Regions from separate parts of the Homo sapiens genome. Here region 1 is linked to region 2. Evidence: promoter capture Hi-C in human tissues and cell types (Jung and others, 2019). All regions are on one chromosome and are shown on one strand. The core of a region is centred on a gene start or on the middle of the fragment in contact, and the rest is flanking DNA. Distances in the headings are between cores, read along the strand shown.

Region 1 (4,384 bases), core at 1,158-3,657, 310 kb before region 2:
AAATGGGTTATCTGTACTCACTGTCTTCATCTCTTCCCCAACTCGCTCCAATCTAGTCTCTTCCCCGCTTCACCGCACACATCCCCAACCAAAACAGTTACCTGTAATATGATGCTGCTTAACCCAACTGGTAATTATCAGTCTCTTCTGCGTATAACATCTTGGAAACATCTGACACTTCTGGCCACTGTTTTCATACTAAGCACTGTCCCGCTTTGGGGACCATGGCCCCTTAGAATCCTGGTTTTCCACCTCCCTGTACCAACATCCCTCTTCAATCTCCTTTGCAGGATCAGCCAATGACTCATTTATATTTTCAGCCCAAACTTCTGAGCACCAGACCAGTATATCCAAGTGACTATTTGATAGCTCAGCTTTGAGATTTCACAGGAAACTGAAATGTAATATAACCAAAATGAAACACAACTTCCCTCCCAAACTGGACCCTCTTCCAAGGAATGTCACTATCATTTGTGGGGTTCTGCAAACCAGAAATTTCAGAGCCATCCTTTCCACCTTTTTTCCATCACTCCACATATTCAAATCATTACCACCTCTAGTCAATTTCTTTACTTCTTAATTCACTTGCATGTCACTTCCTTTTCTCCATCTCTACCCTGGTCATCTTCCATCTGTACTAGTATAACATTCTACTAAATATTCTCTGGAGGGGAGAACTATAGTGCCATGATCATTCAAATGGCAGACCTGATGTCACCCTATCCTTACCCCATCAGCTGAAAACTCTTCCATGCCTCTTCATTTCTTCTAGAATAAGGATCACAACCTGTATGTAACCTGGCCTCCAGCACTCACATGTTCCCATCCTGGCCCCCTTGCTGACTTTACTGGCCTTCTCTCCCATACCATGCCAGACACACCACTCATCTCTAAGTCCCTCCAAAGCTCACTGTCTCTCCACATTGCTTTTCTGCCCCCGCCTCAGTTCCTGCTCACCTGTCAGACCTCAGCATGGCGATCACCTCCTCATGACAATGCCTACCTGTATTTTTTTTTCCTTTATGGCATTTATAATTACAATGAATATCTGGCTTACAGCCATCTCTCCTACTAGTCTAGTTTAATATACTGATGGGGTGGCAGGGAAAGCGCATGTGTTTTTTTGCCTGCATCAAATTCCCACAGCCTGAAACAGCACCTGGCACAGAGTACATACTCAACGAATGCTTGCTGAATGACTGAATGAACAACTATACTGCCCTGAGGACTTTGGTATAATTAGTGTGGGTGATATTTCTATCACAGCTGTTGTAATTTTTTAAAGTATGCTATTGCTTATAATTAGGTAAAGAAGCAAGCCTGTAATTATGAACTCATTCCCATGGGAAAACATGATTTGCTTTATGATAACTACTTTATTTTATGGATTCTTCAAAGAGAACACTTTGGTGAAAAGTGAGCTGCCTGTATTTCTCCCTTACTTACATTTAATATTCACATCTTCTCTGCCCTGAGAAATGCTATATTGCTGAACATAGCCATGAAGTTCAAGAAATTTAACAAATAACTAAATATCTCTTTGGAGCTTAATATTTATTATATGATTACAACTTACGTTAAATTATATTAAAAGCTATTATTAAGAACAGAGCGACTCAGAAAAGTCAAGGCAATGGTGCTTACTCATGCCAAACCTTTAAAATCCTACAAACATGATTTCTGTATTTATTTTCTCCTCTATATCAAAGCAAGGCAAGGCTACCATACATCATTATGGCACTTTCACTCACACACACAATTTAATAAGAGTTTAAAATTTTGATTTTGTAGAAAATTGCTCATTAATATTGTTTTTTCAGAGATTTATTACTTATTTTCTCAGCAATGAAAGTTAATGAATTTAGGCTGATTTCTAGTTTATAATTAATTGATATTCAGAGATTTCAGGTTTTAAAACTGCAATATCAGTGATAACCTAATATGATAAAACCCAGGTTTTCTAATCATATTTAAAAATCACCTAGAAATATTTTGTCTTTAATTCACATATTCATTTGCTCATGATTGGTTAGAACCAATTCCTAACAACACCTCAAGATTTGGCCATTGGAAATAACCATCTTTAGCAAAGCCTTTGTTATTTGTAATTCAACCCTGAAATGTGAACACTATAAAATTTTAGAACTCTACATTAGATTGGTGCAGAACCTTAAGCCAGAGAGTATGCCAACATTTCTTTCTCTATTTTAAAGAGTATGTGGATTAATTACAAGGTGCTGACTGACCTGGATTAATCTTTACCCCTGCCTGCACAAAATTAATTCCTACTATTTACATCAGTTAGATTAGGTCAAGATGGGTAATTCAGGCTGAACCTAATATAAAAACTCCTGTTTCCTAGGGCATCTGAAGTTAACACAGATCTAGTGAAACAATTCCTGCTTATATATTAATGGCATAAAGAGTTAGATTTCTCCCTGCTCACTTTGTAGAGTTGTGAAAGCTATTCAGGCACTGCTTAAATTTAGGTGTTCATTGGGAATAGTTTTAAAACACTCAGCTATGGTGGAGGGGCCTGGGTGGGCAAGGAGAGATGTTGTTCAAGTGGTCTGAAGTTTCAGTGGGACAGGAGGAACAGGCTCTGGTGATCCATTACACAGCATGGTGACTGTAGTTAATGGTAACGTATTGTAGACCTCAAAAGAGCTAAAAGAATGGATTTTAAATGTCCTGACCACAAAGAACAGCCTGATTTGATCATTCCACAACATATATATATATATATATATATATATATATATATATATATGCATCAAAACATCACATTGTATCCCATAAATATATACAATTATTATCAATTAAAAATAACACTAAAAAACACTTTGCTACAAAAAGTCAGGGAACACATTGACCTATGACCTATTTTGTTGCATTTTGCCTTTATGCATAATATAATACTTGTACTGACTTATTTATTTATTTGTTTATTTATTTTGGAGACAGGGTCTCACTCTGTCACCCAGGCTGGAGTACAGTGGCATAATTACAGGTCACTGTAACCCTGAACTCCCAGGCTCAAGTGACCCGCCCTCCTCAATCTCCCAAGTAGCTGGGACTACAGGTGTGCACCACCGTGTCCAGCTAATTTAAACTTTCTTTTTCTTTTTTAGAGACGGGATCTCACTATGTTGCCTAGGTTGGCCTTGAATTCCTGGCCTCAAGTGATCCTCTTGCCTCAGCTTCCCAAAGCACTGACAGCATTCTACATGAGGGGTATGTATCAGGTGTGTGAACATAAGTGGGCCCCCAACTGAGTCTTGTGTCTGCATGTGTCAGGAAGGGACCTAGATCATAAAGATGTCCCTAGAAGGGATGACATATGAATTGAGTCTGGAAGAACAAACAGGCATAAATAGGAGTCAGCCAGCCTGGAGTCATGGGATGGGGTGAGAAATCAGTGTAGGCTTTTAAGGAGAGGGAGTGCCATGTGCAAAGACTCATGGTGCCTATCCAGTGAAACTCCAAGCAATGCAGTAGGGTAGAAACTGGTGGTGTGTGTGCGCGCGCGCGTGTGTGTGTGTGTGTGTATAGGGGAAGAAACAAGAGACAAGACTGTAGAGGTTAGTAGGCACCAGGCCACATAGGGTCTTATGTATCCAGTAAAGACTTTGGACTGAATGTTTTAAATGGAGGAGTACCATAATCAATCAGATCTGCATTTTGAAAAGACAACTCTCAATGAAGTTGGAAAACAGACCAGAGGAAGAAACAATGCAAGTATGGAGATAGACACCTGCTAAGGAAGAGGTGGTGGCAGCCTGGATAAAGGCAGCGCAGGGAGAATGCCTATAGTTTGAGAATTGATGAGGTGGTGGCAGCCTGGATAAAGGCAGCTGCAGGGAGAATGCCTATAGTTTGAGAATTGATTGGATGGGGCTGGGCTATGAAGGAGAGGGAGGAGGGAGGGAAAGGCTGAAGCTTGTGGTTAAGGCACCTTGGGGCTGGCATTGCCATTCACTCCCAGGGTATGCATAGAAGAACGGGAGAGAGTTGGTTATAGGGTGGTGGGTGACTCAGGAAAATAATGAGTTCTACATTTTTAGATATGTAGGCTGTCACTAAGTATTTTTTCTCATTATAATTAATTCCATGAAGACATTTTTGAACATGAATTATGTTAGTGCCTTTAAGTTGCACCAGCTTCACCTTCAGGGTAGAATCTGTCTCCTTCATCTCCATTTCTCACAGCTTCTAGCACTGCAGTTGCTCAATAAGTTCTTGTCTCATGACACCGTCGGGATAAACTGCCAGGAAGGAAGAGCTACAGCAGGTTCAAAGGGTAAGACTGTCATCATCCTTATTATATACTGTCAGGTTTTCTCCAAAAGGATTACATAGTTTACACGGTTAACAGTAATGCATG
Region 2 (4,020 bases), core at 461-2,960:
CTGCATTCCCACCTGCCCCCACCATCCAGGCCATCCTTACCAGCACAAACCATTACCCAGCTTCACAGCAGATGTTCCCTGGATTAAGGGAAGTGCTTCTCCGCTGGGTAGAATTGACGTTCTGAGTGGAAGAGGTTTCAATGTAGGAGAGCAAGAGGCAGCCCTGCTGAGAGGCTAGACTCCTGTACGGTGCAGTCAGCACTACAGGCTGTTAGCACTGAGAGCCAGCTGGACACCCTGCGCCCCGGTCCTGAGATTAGGACACACACTCATGCACACACTCTCTCACAAACACACTCATGCGCACGCACACACACATTCATGCATGCACACACAAACTCATGCATGCTCACACACACTCATGCACACACGTGCACACTCACACGCACACTCACCCACTCGTGCACACACACTCATGCACACACACTCACACATGCACATTAATGAACACTCACATGCACGCGCACACACATCCACTCTCATGCACACACACACACGCACGCGCACACACACATGCACATTCATAAACACACACTCTCACACACATACACTCACACACACTCACATGTCCAGGTGGCCTCTGTTTGGGGATGGGGGCATCATTAGCCCAGCTGAAGATCACAGAGCCTCTTCCAAATCGAACCCATCCCAGACAAAGCTTCTCAAACACAGATGGCTCAAGCTTCCTCCACGCTCTCTCCCTTCCTACCTGCCTCCTTCATCACCTCTTCTTCTCAAGGTGGCCATAACCTTCCCGCCCTCAATTCTCTACTTCCATTCTTACCCTCTCCCTCCACCCTCAATTCTCCACTTCCTCTCTTACCCCTGCCCCAGGCCTCCAGGTGCTTCTGCTCCTTTGGCTCCTTGTTGCCTGACAGGCCTCCCAGCACTTGCTATTTGTACCCTATTCATCCTCCCAGCCTGGTTTGTCCTTTCCCTGACTGCACCGTCAAACTCCCAGGCCTACTCTAAACACCTTAGAATCAGTTCCACCGGGTCTGTCTCTTTGTTACTCTCTCTGATTCTAGTGTATCATCTTGGCAGCTGAACTGGACATTCAGTTTGTTGAGGACAGAGGCCATCCCAGGCTTTCACTTCCAGGGCCTGGCACAGGGAAAGGTAGCAGCCTCCTAGGTGATGCCACTTGGTAGATTTCAAAGTTCCTGATCAAAACCTGGCCTCTTAGTCCCTGCCCACTGCCAGCCTGGGATGAATTCCTGCAGAAAGATTTTAACAACCAGAACAGAATTGTAGCCAGGGAAAACTTCAGCCTCTCAACAGCTTTTTCACTGGGCATCAAAAATAAAAAAGGGTTGGTCCCAGCAGGTGACAAGCTCATCACTGGAGAGAGATGACCTGTCTGTGCCAAGCACTGATTCATTAGCACAATAGAGGTTGATGTTGAAGCTGGCCTGTGTGTGTTTCTTCCTCTCCATAAGCCCTGCCATTGACTCACACTCATCATCAACACAACACGACAGCGAAGCTAAGCAGCATAGCTGGTGTCTTTACCTTCTTCTGCTTGGTGCAGGTCACTGCTGTCTTTTAAGTCTTCATCCACCCAGGGGCGAGCTTCGGCCCTGGTTCTAGGCTCCCCCTTCTTTTTCTCCATGCTTCTGTCGGCATTTTTAAAGATCCACACAACCAAAATGCAGAGAATGGCTACCAAGATGGGAGTCAGGAAATACATGGTCTGGAGTCTGACGTCACAGGCGTGCACACTTCCCACACCGGTTTTTAAACACACAGAGACAGGAGTGGAGAATGCCGGGAGATAGAAGGAATGCAGACACAGGTGTGCCAGGGAAGGAACAAAGTGCAGAACTCTTCAACTCTGTGAGGACTTTGCAAAGGAGCAAAGATCACAGTCACATGTGTGGGGTGTTGTGGCTTTGGTTATACACCAGTCCATTAACTTTTTAAAAGTATGTACTCTGTCGATATATTCTTAGACAACAATTGCCAGAATCTGAGTAAGAACTTGCATGTGCTAGATCTAGCTAGATCACCTGAAGAACTTGTTTTTGTTTTTGTTTTTTTTAAATAGATTTCCACACACCAACTCAGATCTGCTGGAAGAAAATGTTCAGGAAAGAGGTTTGGCACCATGCATTTTAAATGGCATATTTGTGAAAACAGCCCTAGGGTTTTGATTTTTTTTTTATGATACCTGAGCCAATATATGGAGTAAAGAGAATATCATGTTTTGCATCAGAGAAAAACTTTGATCCAGGAAAAGTGACACAAAAAATTAAAGTGACAACTTGATTATGTAATTACTTCAGTAGGGCTTTTTATGTGTTAGTTTGTCTGTCTGTTTTAGAAAGTGCCTTAGTCAGTTATGGCTGAAATAACAAAAATACTATGGACCGGGTGGCTTAAACAATATAAATTTATTTCTCAGCCAGGTATGGTGGCTCATGCCTATAATCCCGGCACTTTGGGAGGCTGAGAGGGGCAGATCACTTGAGGTCAGGAGTTCGAGACCAGCCTGGCCAACATGATGAAACCCCATCTCTACTAAAAATACAAAAATTAGTTGGGCCTGGTGGTACATGCCTGCAAACACAGCTACTCAGGAGGCTGAGGCAGGAAAATAGCTCCACCCAGGAGGTGGAGGTTGCAGTGAGCCGAAATTGTGCCATTGCACTCCAGCCTGGGCGACAAGAGTGAAAGTTCCTCTAAAAAAAAAAAAAGAAAGAAAGAAGAAGAAGAAGAAAAAGAAAAGAAAAGAAAGAAAGAAAGAAAGAAAGAAAGAAAGAAAGAAAGAAAGAAAGAAAGAAATTTATTTATCATTTATTTATCATAGTTCTGGAGGTTGAGAAGTCCATAATTAAGGTGCTGGCAAATCAGCTCCTGGTGAGGGCTCCCCTCCTGGTTTGCCAACAGGTGCCTTCTTGCTGTAACCTCACACAGTGGATGGTGGAAACAGATCATCTCTATCATCTTTTTTCTTATAAGGCCACTAATCTCATTAATGAGGGCTCCACTCTCATCACCTGTTCACCTCCCAAAGGCCCAACCTCCAAATACCATTGTACTGGGGCTTAGGGCTCCAACACATGAATTTTGCCAAGACATATTCAGTCTTTAGCATCAAGGTGCAAACGTATGTATAACATGATGCCATTTGAATAAAACAGAGTGGAAAATATGATACATTTATACAAACTTATATATGTATTTCCTGGAAAAGCATACTCTAAGGAGCGGTTATATCAGGAATTCTCTTTATTAATTTTGCAATTTCTTGTGAGTCTATATTATTTCAAAATAAACAGTGAAAAAAACAGTGGTTACTTGTTTTGGAGGGAGTGTGGAAACTGGATAGATGGGGGACAAGGGTGAGAGAATTTCTACTGAATACTATTCCATAATTTAAGTATTTTGAGCTGTTGTAAATATATTATCTATTTAAAAAATTGAATATGTGTTATTTATTTCAATACTCATTTTGATGGTTTTATTGTATCATATATTGTAATACTCCTTTTTGTGATAGACAGTTGTTTTTTAAGATGTATATCATATTGGTTCTCTAACTCCAGAGAACTCTGTAGAAGATAATAAACAAAGTTTATTATGGAAGCACTGGCCTCCACAGACCATTGAATTTGGTGGTGCTGCCTGCCATGCCGACAGCTTTTGTACAGGAAAGTGCCCTCCCTGTGCCTGCTGAAAGGGTGTCAGAGGGGACATGTCCAGTCCATGTGATCCAACCCCACGCAGGCAGCTGAAAATGGCAGAGCCTGTGTTGGGGCCCAGCTTCTCTTTACATCCCACTAAAAACACAGAATAAAGAAACCACTCCATAGCAAGAGAAGAGCAAGACAAATGTGCAGAGAGAAGCAAGGCCTGCAAGGCAGCAATGCCTCACAGCTCAGGGGAAGGACAAGGTGAGGGCCATGGGTGGCAACTGCCTCTGCTCCTAGGAGGTCCCAGGCCTGCCTCGGTTTCAGCCCATGTGTCTCCTTACCTTCGAAGAATCAGAAAGATCCTCGGTGCCTGTAACTACAAAAG

Evidence for each region. Contacts are between HindIII fragments. The study calls those that stand out against the background at their distance.
Region 1: a contact is called between a fragment that was not itself captured here and the fragment with the promoter of IYD in region 2, in 1 of the 25 tissues and cell types used here (IMR-90 fibroblasts).

The regions. Positions count from the first base shown.
Region 1 is chr6:150,676,450-150,680,833 of GRCh38, reverse strand. The region is part of intron 2 of PLEKHG1 (pleckstrin homology and RhoGEF domain containing G1); the gene reads right to left. Among named protein-coding and RNA genes, the nearest start is that of PLEKHG1, 79 kb to the right of the region's middle. The HindIII fragment of the contact is 6,713 bases long and covers 1-4,384 here.
Region 2 is chr6:150,366,702-150,370,721 of GRCh38, reverse strand. IYD (iodotyrosine deiodinase) reads right to left here and starts at 1,710. Exons shown (of 5, transcript NM_203395.3): 1 at 1,513-1,710. The coding sequence starts at 1,690. The HindIII fragment of the contact is 8,635 bases long and covers 1-4,020 here.